Linked DNA regions of Homo sapiens: region 1 is linked to region 2. The links are contacts of gene promoters, found by promoter capture Hi-C in human tissues and cell types (Jung and others, 2019). All regions are on one chromosome and are shown on one strand. Each heading gives the region's core, a stretch centred on a gene start or on the middle of the fragment in contact. The rest is flanking DNA. Distances are from core to core; before and after follow the strand shown.

The links. The method cuts DNA at HindIII sites, captures the fragments that hold promoters and counts their contacts. A contact is called where the count stands out against the background at its distance.
Region 1: a contact is called between a fragment that was not itself captured here and the fragment with the promoter of TMEM50B in region 2, in 1 of the 25 tissues and cell types used here (dorsolateral prefrontal cortex).

The regions. Positions count from the first base shown.
Region 1 is chr21:32,713,704-32,719,811 of GRCh38, reverse strand. All of the region lies in intron 2 of SYNJ1 (synaptojanin 1), which reads left to right. Among named protein-coding and RNA genes, the nearest start is that of SYNJ1, 11 kb to the left of the region's middle. The HindIII fragment of the contact is 4,447 bases long and covers 2,115-6,108 here.
Region 2 is chr21:33,476,500-33,482,365 of GRCh38, reverse strand. It overlaps TMEM50B (transmembrane protein 50B), which reads left to right and starts at 2,392. Exons shown (of 7, transcript NM_006134.7): 1 at 2,392-2,528. It also overlaps the pseudogene RPS5P3. The HindIII fragment of the contact is 12,756 bases long and covers 1-5,866 here.

The sequences.
Region 1 (6,108 bases), core at 3,089-5,588, 760 kb after region 2:
TTCTTCATAAGTAACCACAATTTACTAATGAGATGTGTGTGCTTGTTGAGCACTGAGCACTAAATAGCTTTTCTTTTTCTTTCTTTTTTTTTTTTTTTAAGATGGAGTTTTACTCTTGTCACCCAGGTTGGAGTGCAATGGCACGGTCTCGGCTCACTGCAACCTCTGCCTACGGGTTCAAGCAATTCTCCTGCCTCAGCCTCTCAAGTAGCTGGGATTGCAGGCACCCGCTACCACACCTGGCTAATGTTTGTATTTTTAGTAGAGACGGGGTTTCACCATGTTGGCCAGGCTGGTCTCGAACTCCTGACCTCAGGTGATCTGCCCACCATGGCCTTCCAAAGTGCTGGGATTACGGGCGTGAGCCACTGCTCCCAGCCTGCATAGCTTTTCAAACCTTGGAACAGAGTACACTGCCGTCCTCATTTCCTGTTCCACATTGATTTTCAAGTGACACTTGCTTTTATCACAGCAACCAGCAAAAACCCGGTTTCACTAATATATATCATCCAAGGAATGCACTGCAATCTAATATGACAACTCAAGCACCTCAGGTTAATAGTTTGGCTGGTTTCCAGCATGTGTTGAGAATCTCAGTGTTTCCTTCTGTTTAAAATATGCAGCTTCCCTGGGAGTTTGCTGTAGTGCCGTGGGGCATCTGAGCACACAGTTCAGGAGATGTGGCATTTGACACACTTTATTTCATTCAGTTCAGATTGTGCTTTTATCCACATTTCAGAGATTTGGAAACTGAGGATTGGAAAGATAACTGCCCCAATGACATAGTCCTACCATTTAATTTTTTTTTACTGTAATTATTGTTTGTGCTGTTGTGAGGCTATTGTATTACCATATATTGTGTGGCTATTATTTTCAGGGGTGGGGAATGAAGTGTAAAAATAAGGGAAGGCGTTAAGGTTAAGAGTGTAATTGGTAGCATTTTCTAATGAGGGAACTGTACACTTGTGTTTTTCCCTACAAACTATTAACATATTAATATATTAGAGGAGAAAGTATGGTTTAATTTACAGTAAAGTCATTAAAAACAAAGTTTCTTTCCTGGGCCAAGTTAAATGTCAGGTTCTAGACTTTTGGATAAATATAGTAGGTGGTAATGCCAAACAGTGTGTGTAGTTTGTTTTTTTTTTTTAATTGCCAAACGCTGTCAACATGATTGCCCTTTAGATAAGTTGCAGTGTCCTGTCTCTTTTAAAGAAAAATTTGCAAGTTGAGGGAAGAAGTGACTTTTTATAGTTGACTTTTTCAGCAGAGAAATCATGAAATTTAGACTTGTTATATATCACTTTATGTTAGGGTTGCAAAAATTCATTTTCTTTTTATAAATACCTTTGGAAGGTGCATATTTATTTTCTTTCTTTTTTTATGTGCCCCTGTAGTCTGAGGAATGTACGTATTTAATAGAAAGTAACTTAAATGTCAACTCTTTAAAAAGAAAATCAACCAAACTTTTTTATTCTGGGTTGGTAGTAGGATTGACCTAGGGTCAAACCAGTAGTTAGTTCTTAAGTGCTTTCATTTCTTCACCACTTAACTTTGCTATGAGGAAATAAAAAGGAAAGGCAGAACTTCCACTCTCACTGAATAGTAAAAACTCTGTGGCTTTTTATTACATCATCTCAGGTCTATCAGATGTTCTAACTTGTCCTATAAAATATACGTAACTCAGGACTATAACGGGAGCTTCTGACCATAGTGGAGTAACAGGAACTAGATTTACCCTCCTACCTTAAGTAACAACAACAAAATGAACAAAATACATGGAATGATTTGCAGACCTTGAACAAAAGGCAGCACAAGATGCTGACCCCTGAGAGAAGGGAAACAAATGAGGTGGGTTTTATGAATGCTCCAGCTTACTGCCTGGAGAGCTTCCAGGCCACAGCAGCAGAAGAGTCACTCAAGCAAAGCTTGACAGGATTCCTGAGTAGGGAATATGGGGAGGCCAAGGCAGCCAGAATCTCAGGGCTGTGTACTAGAGATGAGACAGTTGCACAAAGAGCTCCAGAGATCTGTAGAGGACTCCGTTTGAGACTTCAGCTCAGTGTTGATCGGTGCCAGTGTGTAAGGAAACCATTTGAGGCAGGGAAAGAATCACCAAAAAGGAGTAGGCAGAAAAATTTCTGGAGCTCACACAGGGCTGGGAATAGTTCATGTTTAACAACTAGAGTGGAGAAGTCCTGCATGGAGAATTAGGTTGAGTACTGCAAAGGGTATACTGCTTCAGTAAAGGGGCAAAGTAGTCCTAGACTAAATTCCACTCCAGCCCTCCCTAACAAAGCTTAAAAGCAAGACCCAAAGGGATGCCACTGTTTCCAAGTAACCGAACTTCCAAATAACTGTATCCCAGAACGAAGTTTAAGAATATTTATAGGAATATAGGAAAATATACCTCATAAGGAGCAAAGTCAAATGTAGAAACAGATGCTGTAATAGACAAGGACATTAAAACAGCTATTGTAAATATACTCCATATGTTCAACAAGTAGAGGAAAAAATGAACCTGTTAAGACGAGATATGAAAAATGTGAAAGAGGCCAGGCACGGTGGCTTACACTGTTAATCCCAGCACTTTGGGAGGCCGAGGTGGGCGGATCACCTGAGGTCAGGTGTTCAAGACCAGCCTGGCCAACATGGTGAAATCCCATCTCTACTAAAAATACAAAATTAGCCGGGCGTGGTGGCAGGCACCTGTAATCCCAGCTACTCGAGAGGCTGAGGCAGGAGAATTACTTGAACCCAGGAGTTGGAGGTTGCAGTGAGCCAAGAGCATGCCATTGCATTCCAGTCTGGGCAACAGAGCAAGACTCCGTCTCTAAAAAAAAAAAAAGTGAAAGACCCAAATTAGACTTCTAGATGTGGTAGGGATTACTATATTAGACATTGTAGAAGAAATGATTGGCAAACTTGAAGACATAGTAATAGAAACTGTCCAAAATAAAATACAGAGAGAAAAAAGGCTAAAATAAATAAATACACAGAGCATCAGTGAACTGCAGGACGACTTCCGGTGACCCAATATACATGAATATGTGGATCCCAGAAAGAAGTTGGTAGGGAAGAAAAACACTTGAAGAAATAATAGCTGGCACTTTTGCAAATTTCATGAAAGCTATGAATCCACATATCCAAGAAGCTAAATGAACATAAAGCAGAACACTATACCCAAATACATGATCAAGTTACTGTTTACCAGTGATACAGAGAAGATCTTAAAAGTAGCCCAAGGAAGAAAAGACACACATTTACAGAAGAGTGAAGATAAGAATGATAGTAGACTTTTCTTTGCAAGCAATCCAAGCCAGAGGACATTGGGAACATCTTTAAAGTACTGGAAGGAAGAAACCAAACCAAACCATTCACCTAGAGTTTTGTACCCAACCACAAATGAAGATGTAAAGACTTTTCAGACATTCGAAGGTTGAAAAAATATGAGCTAATTATAATGACTAGCAGTTTAATATTGTAGTATTACCTTTCTTAGTATCCAATACCAACATTTTCAAAACTTTTGAGATTATAAAGTCTGAATCAGTGAAATTTTGAAAGAAGCATACAAAGTGAAAGAAGCAATAAAGAGTGGAATGGGCTAGTGCAATTGTTTAGCCTTGTTAGAGTATCAAAAGGAAGTATAGTTTTAAAAATTGTGCATGATTTTTACTGGTGACAATTAAAATTTGCTTTGAGTGTTTTAATGGTTGTTAATAAGAATTTGTATTTTATCTTTTTCCAGCTTAAATAGAGTTTATAAATATAAGCCATTGCTGATCAGTAGTGTTACGTATGTGAGCACATGCATTCACATTGGGTTGCATTTCATAGCTACTGAACCAAATGATGAATGATTTGGCACTTGGAGAAAATAAATTTGGCATTTGGAGAGATATATAAATTCTTCTTGGTTGGATACTCATTACTTCCTCAGTTCAGAATGAAAAAATTTTAGACCCTTGAAATTCCTGGATAATTCTGGGCCAACTGAGTCAGTGAAAAGAAAAAAATTAAAAAAAAACTTTATTGTCTCAAAACATTAAATATTTCTATATGTTAAATGTACTTATTAAAATTTTGTGTTTCTATTTCATTATAGTCTTATTTAACTTTTTATATATAAAGGTGTGTTTACTTATATAACTAGCTCTTAGCAATAAATATTTATTATGAGTTATGTTTCATTCTGTTCACTAGTGGACCATAGGATTGCTGTAATCTCTTGAATGTGTTGCTGAAATATAGATAAACAAAATCATTTAATATCCTGTGGACCATGTGTGAACTATAAGTAGAATGAATCTTCTTTTTTCAATTTTTTTTTTTTTTGAGACAGAGTCTCACTTTGTTGCCCAGGCTGGAGTGCAGTGGCATGATCTTGGCTCACTGTAACCTCAGCCTCCTGGGTTCAGGTGATTCTCCTGCCTCAGCATCCCGAGTAGCTGAAATTATGGGTGTGCACCACCATGCCCAGCTGATTTTTGTATCTCTTTATTAGAGACAGGTTTCACCTTACTGGCCAGGCTGGTCTCGAACTCCTGACATCAAGTGATCCACCTGCCTCAGCTCCCCAAAATGCTGGGGTTACAGGCGTGAGCCACCGTGCCCGGCCTCTTTTTGTTTTTATTTTTAAATTCCAGAATCTTATAATTAAATAAATTTCTAGCTGGTTGTACCTTAGTGCTCATTAGTTGTCTTTCCTTGGTTAGCATTGGGAATATATCTTTGGCCTATCTTGTTCCCAGTTTTATCAATTCTCTTAGAGAATGGAGTAGAAAGTACAGTTTTCAGATTTTTAGTTGTGGCAAAGTGACGTAGGATTGATGAGAGCTGGGTTGAATAATTATGTTGGATGACACAATTGAGATCCAGCTTTTTGAAACTCAGATAATGGGTTAGAACCCACAAAAGGAAAATGCACTTCCCCTTGCACCGGATTGAGTGTTTGTGTATTCCTGAACCAAAAATGACTGTTGAGATATCATGTGCTGTTTGCATCAGGTAGATCATTGGCAGAAGAAGGTAGAAATTTCTGTGATTTCCATAGTATCACAAACTGTTTGGTGGCTACCAAATGAGGAAGAGTTGGAATAGGTACCGTATTGATGGTCTTACCAACCACTGCATATCCTCAAACCTGATCTTTCCTTCAGTCTCCCTTATGTCAATGGATTGCACTCCATCTACCAAGTTGTTTCAAACAACTTAAGAATCATCCTCAACACCTCTTCCCCTCACATTTCACACATTCTCTCTATTACCAAGTCTAGTCAATTCCTCCTCTTAATTTCCTTGAGATTCCATGCAACTGCCTGCATTTAGCTGGCTCTGTTTCAATCAAGACACTGTTGTCTCTTTCATGGATCATTACAATTCCCTCCTTAACTGGTCCCTCTGCTTCTACTTACCACGCCTACACCCCAGTCTTTTAAAAAACATGGTTTAGATCTTATTAATCCCCTGCCTAATACTCTTCAGTGATTGGCCACTGAAGTTAAAATCTAAACTCTAAGATGACCTACAATAAAATCGAGTTTCTGCTTCCCTCTTCAACCTGTTACCACTTTACCTCTTGGTTTCTATGTTCTAACCTCATTGGCCGCCTTTCAGTTCTGAATGTACCAAATTCTTTCTGGCGTCAGGGTCTTTACATATGCTGTTCCGTCTGCTCAAATGTATTTTTTTAAAATAATAAGCTTTTTAAATTATAATACATGTAGAAAAGTATATAAATCTTAAACATACAGCTTGATATATTATTATAGAATGAACATACCCTTATTACCACAACTGGGTTGAGAAATAGAATATTATTACTAGCATACCAGAGAGCTTTCCAGAGAATAATCCCCTCATGCTCCTTCCCAGTTATCTTTATTATGATCTGCAAAGATAATCACTATTCAGACCTCTTACATCATGGAATAGTTTTAAGTGTTTTTCAGCTTAACATAAATGGAGTCATTCTCTGTGTATTCTTTGGTATCTAGCTCCTTTCACTCAATGAAATCATCCATGTTGACATATGGGAAATCATCCATGTTGACATATGGGAAATCATCCATGTTGATATATGGGAAATCATCCATGTTGATATAT
Region 2 (5,866 bases), core at 1,143-3,642:
CTTCATATATGGAGGTAATCATTTTTCTACAGATATTATTCTGTAACAAAGCTTAAAAAAATCCTGGGAAACCTTAAAATATTAGTACTTTAAAAAGCAATGGCCTGTCTGTGCCAGGGCAGCATGTGGTCCATGCTGATCGACAGAGACACTCAGGCTGTGCCCTCAGGATGACCGAGTGGGAGACAGCAGCACCAGCAGTGGCAGAGACCCCTTGACATCAAGCTCTCTGGGAAGTGGAGCACTGATGATATGCAGATCAATGGCATTTCCCTGCAGGATTACACTGCAGTGAAGGAGAAGTATGCCAAGTACCTGCCTCACAGTGCTGGGTGGTATGCAGCCAAATGCTTCCGCAAAGCTCAGTGCCCCATTGTGGAGCCCCTCACTAACTCCATGATGATGCACGGCTGCAACAACAGCAACAAGCTCATGATCATGTGCATCATCAAGCATGCCTTCGATTTCATCCACCTGCTCACAGGCGAGAACCCTCTCCAGGTCCTGGTGAACGCCATCATCAACAGTGGTCCCTGGGAGGACTCCACATGCATTGGGCGAGCAGGGACTGTGAGACAACAGGCTGTGGACATGTCCCCACTGCACTGTGTGAATCAGGTCGTCTGGCTGCTGTGCACAGGCACTCGTGAGGCTGCCTTCTGGAACATCAAGACCATTGCTGAGTGCCTGGCGGATGAGCTCATCAATGCCACCAAGGCCTCCTCCAGCTCCTATGCCATCAACAAGAAGGATGAGCTGGAGTGTGGGGACAAGTCCAACCGCTGATTTTCCTGGCTGCTGCCTAATAAACCAGTCTGCCCTTTGGGATGCCTCCCCCACCCCCCCAAAAAAAGTGATGAGATTTGGAAACTTCTAATTGTCCCCTAATATCTAGTTTTCCTTCCTTAGTACTGAAACCCCATTTTCCAGCCTTCTTTGCAATTTGGTGTAGTCAAGTGACTATTTTACTAGCAGAATGAAAACAAAAATGGTACATGCAACCCCCGCCCCTTTCAAAAGGTTCTTAAAGAGAGGAGAGTGTTCCCTTCTGTATCCTCTCTTCTGGTGGAATGCCAGCATTGTGACATATTTCAAAAGTAAATTATTCAGCACATATTTATTGAACACCTAGATCCTAGCCCATGTATAAGAGCTATAGGAGAACATTATCCAGGATGGCATTTTTGGTGATAATTCCATGATACAAAACCTTTTACTTCATTATGCCTCAAGTAAAATGCTTTTTAGATTTCCACTGATAATAACTCTACTTGGCTGGGCACAGTGGCCCACGCTTGTAATCCCAGCATTTTGGGAGGCAGAGGCGGGTGGATCACCTGAGGTCAGGAGTTCAGGATCAGCCAGGTGAAATCCCGTCTCTACTAAAAATACACAAATTAGCCAAGCATGGTGGTGCGCACCTGTAATCCCAGCTACTCGGAAGGCTGAGGTGGGAGGATTGATTGAGCGTGGGAGGTAAGAGGCTGCAGTGAGCCAAGATCACACCACTGCACTCCACCCTGGACAACAGAGCAAGACCCTGTCTCAAAACAAACAAACAAACCACCCAAAAAACAAAGCTCGACTTTCCCCCAAACAACTAAATGGTTATAGGCATTTCTGTAGGAAATTTAGACGGGGCTTCCAAACGCTGTTAAAGTTATGTTGAAAATCCAAGAGGCTGAAAGATATCTGACTATAAGAAAGACGAAAAAAAAAAAAAAAGACAAAAATCTACGTGAATAGACGGGAGAGCGCCGAGCGAAATCAGAAGACTAGTTGTATTGTGAGGATCACCTCGGGTAACCAGCACTCGCTGGGTAGCCCTGGTTTACTAACTTCAACTTTCTGGGGCTCCATTTCTGAATTGAGGGGATTAGAAAAAGGCATCTCTAAAGACCCTCCGTTCCCGAGAACCCTCCCGGAGCACCTTCCCTACTCTGGGCAGCTCGCAGACAGACAAGACTGATCGGCCATAGGCGAAGGGAAACCCTGGTCCCCCGGGTCTCGAGCTCCGTCCGCACGTAATCTCACGGTACTGCACTTCAAGTCAGCGTGCAGAAACGCAGCAGTGGGAGCCCGGCGGCGGCCGCCCACCGGCAGGGGACAGGAGAGGCCCGTCCCGCTCTGCCCGGAACCGTAGATAGCTGGGTCTGAACTCCGGCTCCGGGAGGCCTGCAGAGCAGCCCACCCCGTCCCTCGGAGCTCGCCCTGCCCCCGGCCGGCCACTTGCTGCACGCCGATTGGTCGCGAGGAGCGCCCGGCGTCCCGCTGCGCCCAGCCAACGCCCTCTCCCCGCCCCCTCGCGTCCCGCCCCGCCCCCGGCCGGCCACTTGCTGCGCTCCGATTGGTCGCTGCGGTGCACACGGCGCCTCGCCCCGCCTCACCGGCGCTCTATCCTCGCGTCTGCTCCCAGCTCCGGGCTCCCGGGGCTGAGGTGGAGCCGCGGGACGCCGGCAGGGTTGTGGCGCAGCAGTCTCCTTCCTGCGCGCGCGCCTGAAGTCGGCGTGGGCGTTTGAGGAAGCTGGGTGAGTCCTGTCTGTGGGTCTCCGGCGCCAGGCAACCGTAGAGGGCTCGCGCCCGCCGCCCGCGCGTAAGGAGGCTCCCTCGTCGGGCCCTGTCCGGCCCGGCCTTCTGGGGGCTGTGGGGCCGTCCAGCCGGGTTTTCCCTGCGTTCGGCGCCGGCCTGCAGACTCGGGCCCGCGGAGCCCCCGCCGCCCCTTCTTGCCCCTGCCCGCGTCCCTTCGGGCCGACCGTGACCGTGGCGCCGCCGCGACCCGCAAGCAGCCCGGGGAGGCTGCCCTGCCGCGCTGTCACGCCGTCAGGTTGCGTTCCTGGGGAGGGCTGGAGAGGCTCCATCTCGTGCCTTTCACCTTCTCGCGCGGCGGGCACGGAGGCGACGGTTTTCGGGACGCCCTGCTGCGGCCGCGACGCCCTCCCGAGGCCGGAGCGAGGGCCCCGGGGCGGCTCCAGCCCTTCTTCGCCCCTCCCGTTTGCCCCGAACCATTGCTAGGAGCCTGTGTTTTCTGCACTTTTCTGATTTCATTCTTACGAGAGTCAAGTACAGAGGCGGGAGGGGAAAGGGAAGGGGAACAACATTCTTTCGAGAATTATAAACCTTGAGCTCCGTTAAATAAGTAGCAGCAGAGCATTGTCACTGGAGCAGTGGTAGTCGCGGGTAGGACCGTTTCGGTTTTTAGCCAATAGGCTGGTTAAAGGTACTTAAAACAGTAAGTTGGAAGGTGCTGAAATTCTAAGGTAAATACGTGACCTTTCAAAACCAAAGCAGTGAGACGGGCTAGGCTGGGCTGCTCCCCGCTGCGCGTGCCTGGGTCGGGGGGTGCGGAGGGGCAGGGGGCGGAGGCCTCGGACGGGACGGGGTGGGAGGGAAGTGGCATCCGCATCGTCTTACATCGCGCTGTAAGACCCGATTTTCTCTTTTCGGAGGATCCCATCTCCCTTCTCAGACTCTTCATCCTACCTGCACTGTGGATCCCTTGACACTTCAGAGGCTCTGAACTCTCAGGCCGGTCACACTTTTTCATCATTTTGTTTCTTGTCTTTTAAACCTGCATGCATTTCAAACGTAGAGCAAACATTAAACTTTTTTTTTAAACTGAAGATAGTGGTGCAAGACTTTGTTATTGAAATGCAAACCAAAAGTTATCTTGAATATTTATCGCGCTGGAAAAGCAGGTTTAATTAGAGTGAGGTGGGGACGTATATTTCTTCTTCCGGAGACACAGCCTTCCCACTCACCACCCCAATCCCTCCTCTCTGTCAACTAGGGTTACAGCAGCCTTACACTGGCTAGTCTTTTCTGAATTCTGAATTCACTTCTGGGGGCCAAGGTAAAGAATTTATCGTATTTTATCCTCATTTTCCTTTTCTGTTTTTTTTGAGACAGAGTCTCCCTCGTTGACCAGGCTACAAGTACAGTGGCCCGATCTCTGCTCACTGCAGCCTGCACCTCTAGGGTTAAAGGGATTTTACAGCCTCAGCCTCCCGAGTAGCTGGGATCACAGGCGCCTGCCACCATGCCTGGCTAATTTTTATATTCTTAGTAGAGAGAGAGTTTCACCATGTTGGCCAGGCTGGTCTTGAACTCCTGACCTCAAGTGATCCGCTTGCCTCGGTCTCTGAAAGTACTGGGATTACAGGTGTGGGCACCGCGCCTGGCCTTTTAAAGTGTATTATTATTATTTTTAAATTTATTTATTTATTTATTTTTTGAGACAGAGTCTTGCTCTGTCTCCCAGGCTGGAGTGCAGTGGCAAGATCTCGGCTCACTGCAAGCTCCACGTCCTGGGTTCACGCCATTCTCCTGCCTCAGCCTCCCTAGTAGTTGGGACTACAGGCGCCCACCACCACGCCCGGCTAATTTTTTGTATTTTTAGTAAAGACGGGTTTTCACCGTGTTAGCCAGGATGGTCTCGATCTCCTGACCTCGTGATCCACCTGCCTCAGCCTCCCAAAGTGCTGGGATTACAGGCGTGAGCCACTGTGCCCGGCCTAAAGTTTATTTTTAACTTATGTATATATATATATAATTTTTGAGGCCGAGTTTTGCTCTTGTTGCCCAGGCTGGAGTGCAATGGCGCTATCGTGGCTCACTGCAACCTCCGCCTCCCAGGTTTAAACGATTCTCCTGTCTCAGCCTCCCAAGTAAACTGGGATTACAGGCGCCCGCCGCCACGCCCAGCTAATTTTTGTATTTTTAGTAGAGACTCGAACTCCTGACCTCAGGTAACCCCCCCCCGCCTCGGCCTCCCAAAGTGCTGGGATTACAGACGTGAGCCACCGTACCTAGCCCGTTTTACTTTTTAAATGATTAAAGTAACATTCAGGTTGTTTAAAACATTTAAACATGACAGAAGAATATCAAGTAAAATTCAGACAGCGCAGAGGTATGTCAAGTTAGAATTCCTTGTTTGTTCACTCTTTACATCCTCAATTCCATTCCCTAGGAGGGTATTATATTATAATATTGCTCGGCAACTGATGATAATATAAGGACACATTTCCTTCATAAGCACGTGGAGACCTACCTCATTTCCTCCCAACCCCACCCCTCACTTTGGAGACCGGGTCTCACTGTGTTGCCCAGGCTGGAGTGCAGTGGTTCCCTCACGGCTTGCTGCAGCCTTGGGCTCAAACGATCCTCCCACCTCAGCCTCCTGAGAAGCTGAGACTATAGGCGAGTGCCACCATGCCTAATTTTTGTAATTTTTGTAGAGACGGGTTTCTCATATTGCCCAGGCTGGTCTTGAATTCCTGAACTCAAGCCATCCACCTGCCTCAGCCTCTCAAAGTGCTGGGATTACAGGTGTGAGCCATCCTGCCCAGCCAACTTGCCTCATTTTCAGAATGTTGCATGGTATACCGTTGTTTGGATGTACCCTAATATACATTTTTTGGTTCCTTATTGATGGACATTTTGACTGTTTCTGGGTTTTAGCCATTAAAAGCTTTGCTTTATGAAAATCTTTTTGTCGTTCTAGGGTAAGTTTCAAGTAGATAATATAAACAGATGATTGTACTTTGATATAATTTTATTTCACAAGGAATCTTTTTAAACTTAAAGTTGTTTTTTTTTTTTTTTTTTTGAGATGGAGTCTCACTCTGTCGCCCAGGCTGGAGTGCAGTGGTGCGATCTCGGCTCACTGCAAGCTCCACCTCCCGGGTTCACACCATTCTCCTGCCTCAGCCTCCCGAGAAGCTGGGACTACAGGCACCCTCCACCACGCCCAGCTAATTTTTTGTGTTTTTAGTAGAGACGGGGTTTCATCGTTTTAGCCAGGATGGTCTCAATCTCCTGACCTCGTGATCCGCTGGCCTCGGCTTCCCAAAGTGCAGGGATTACAGGT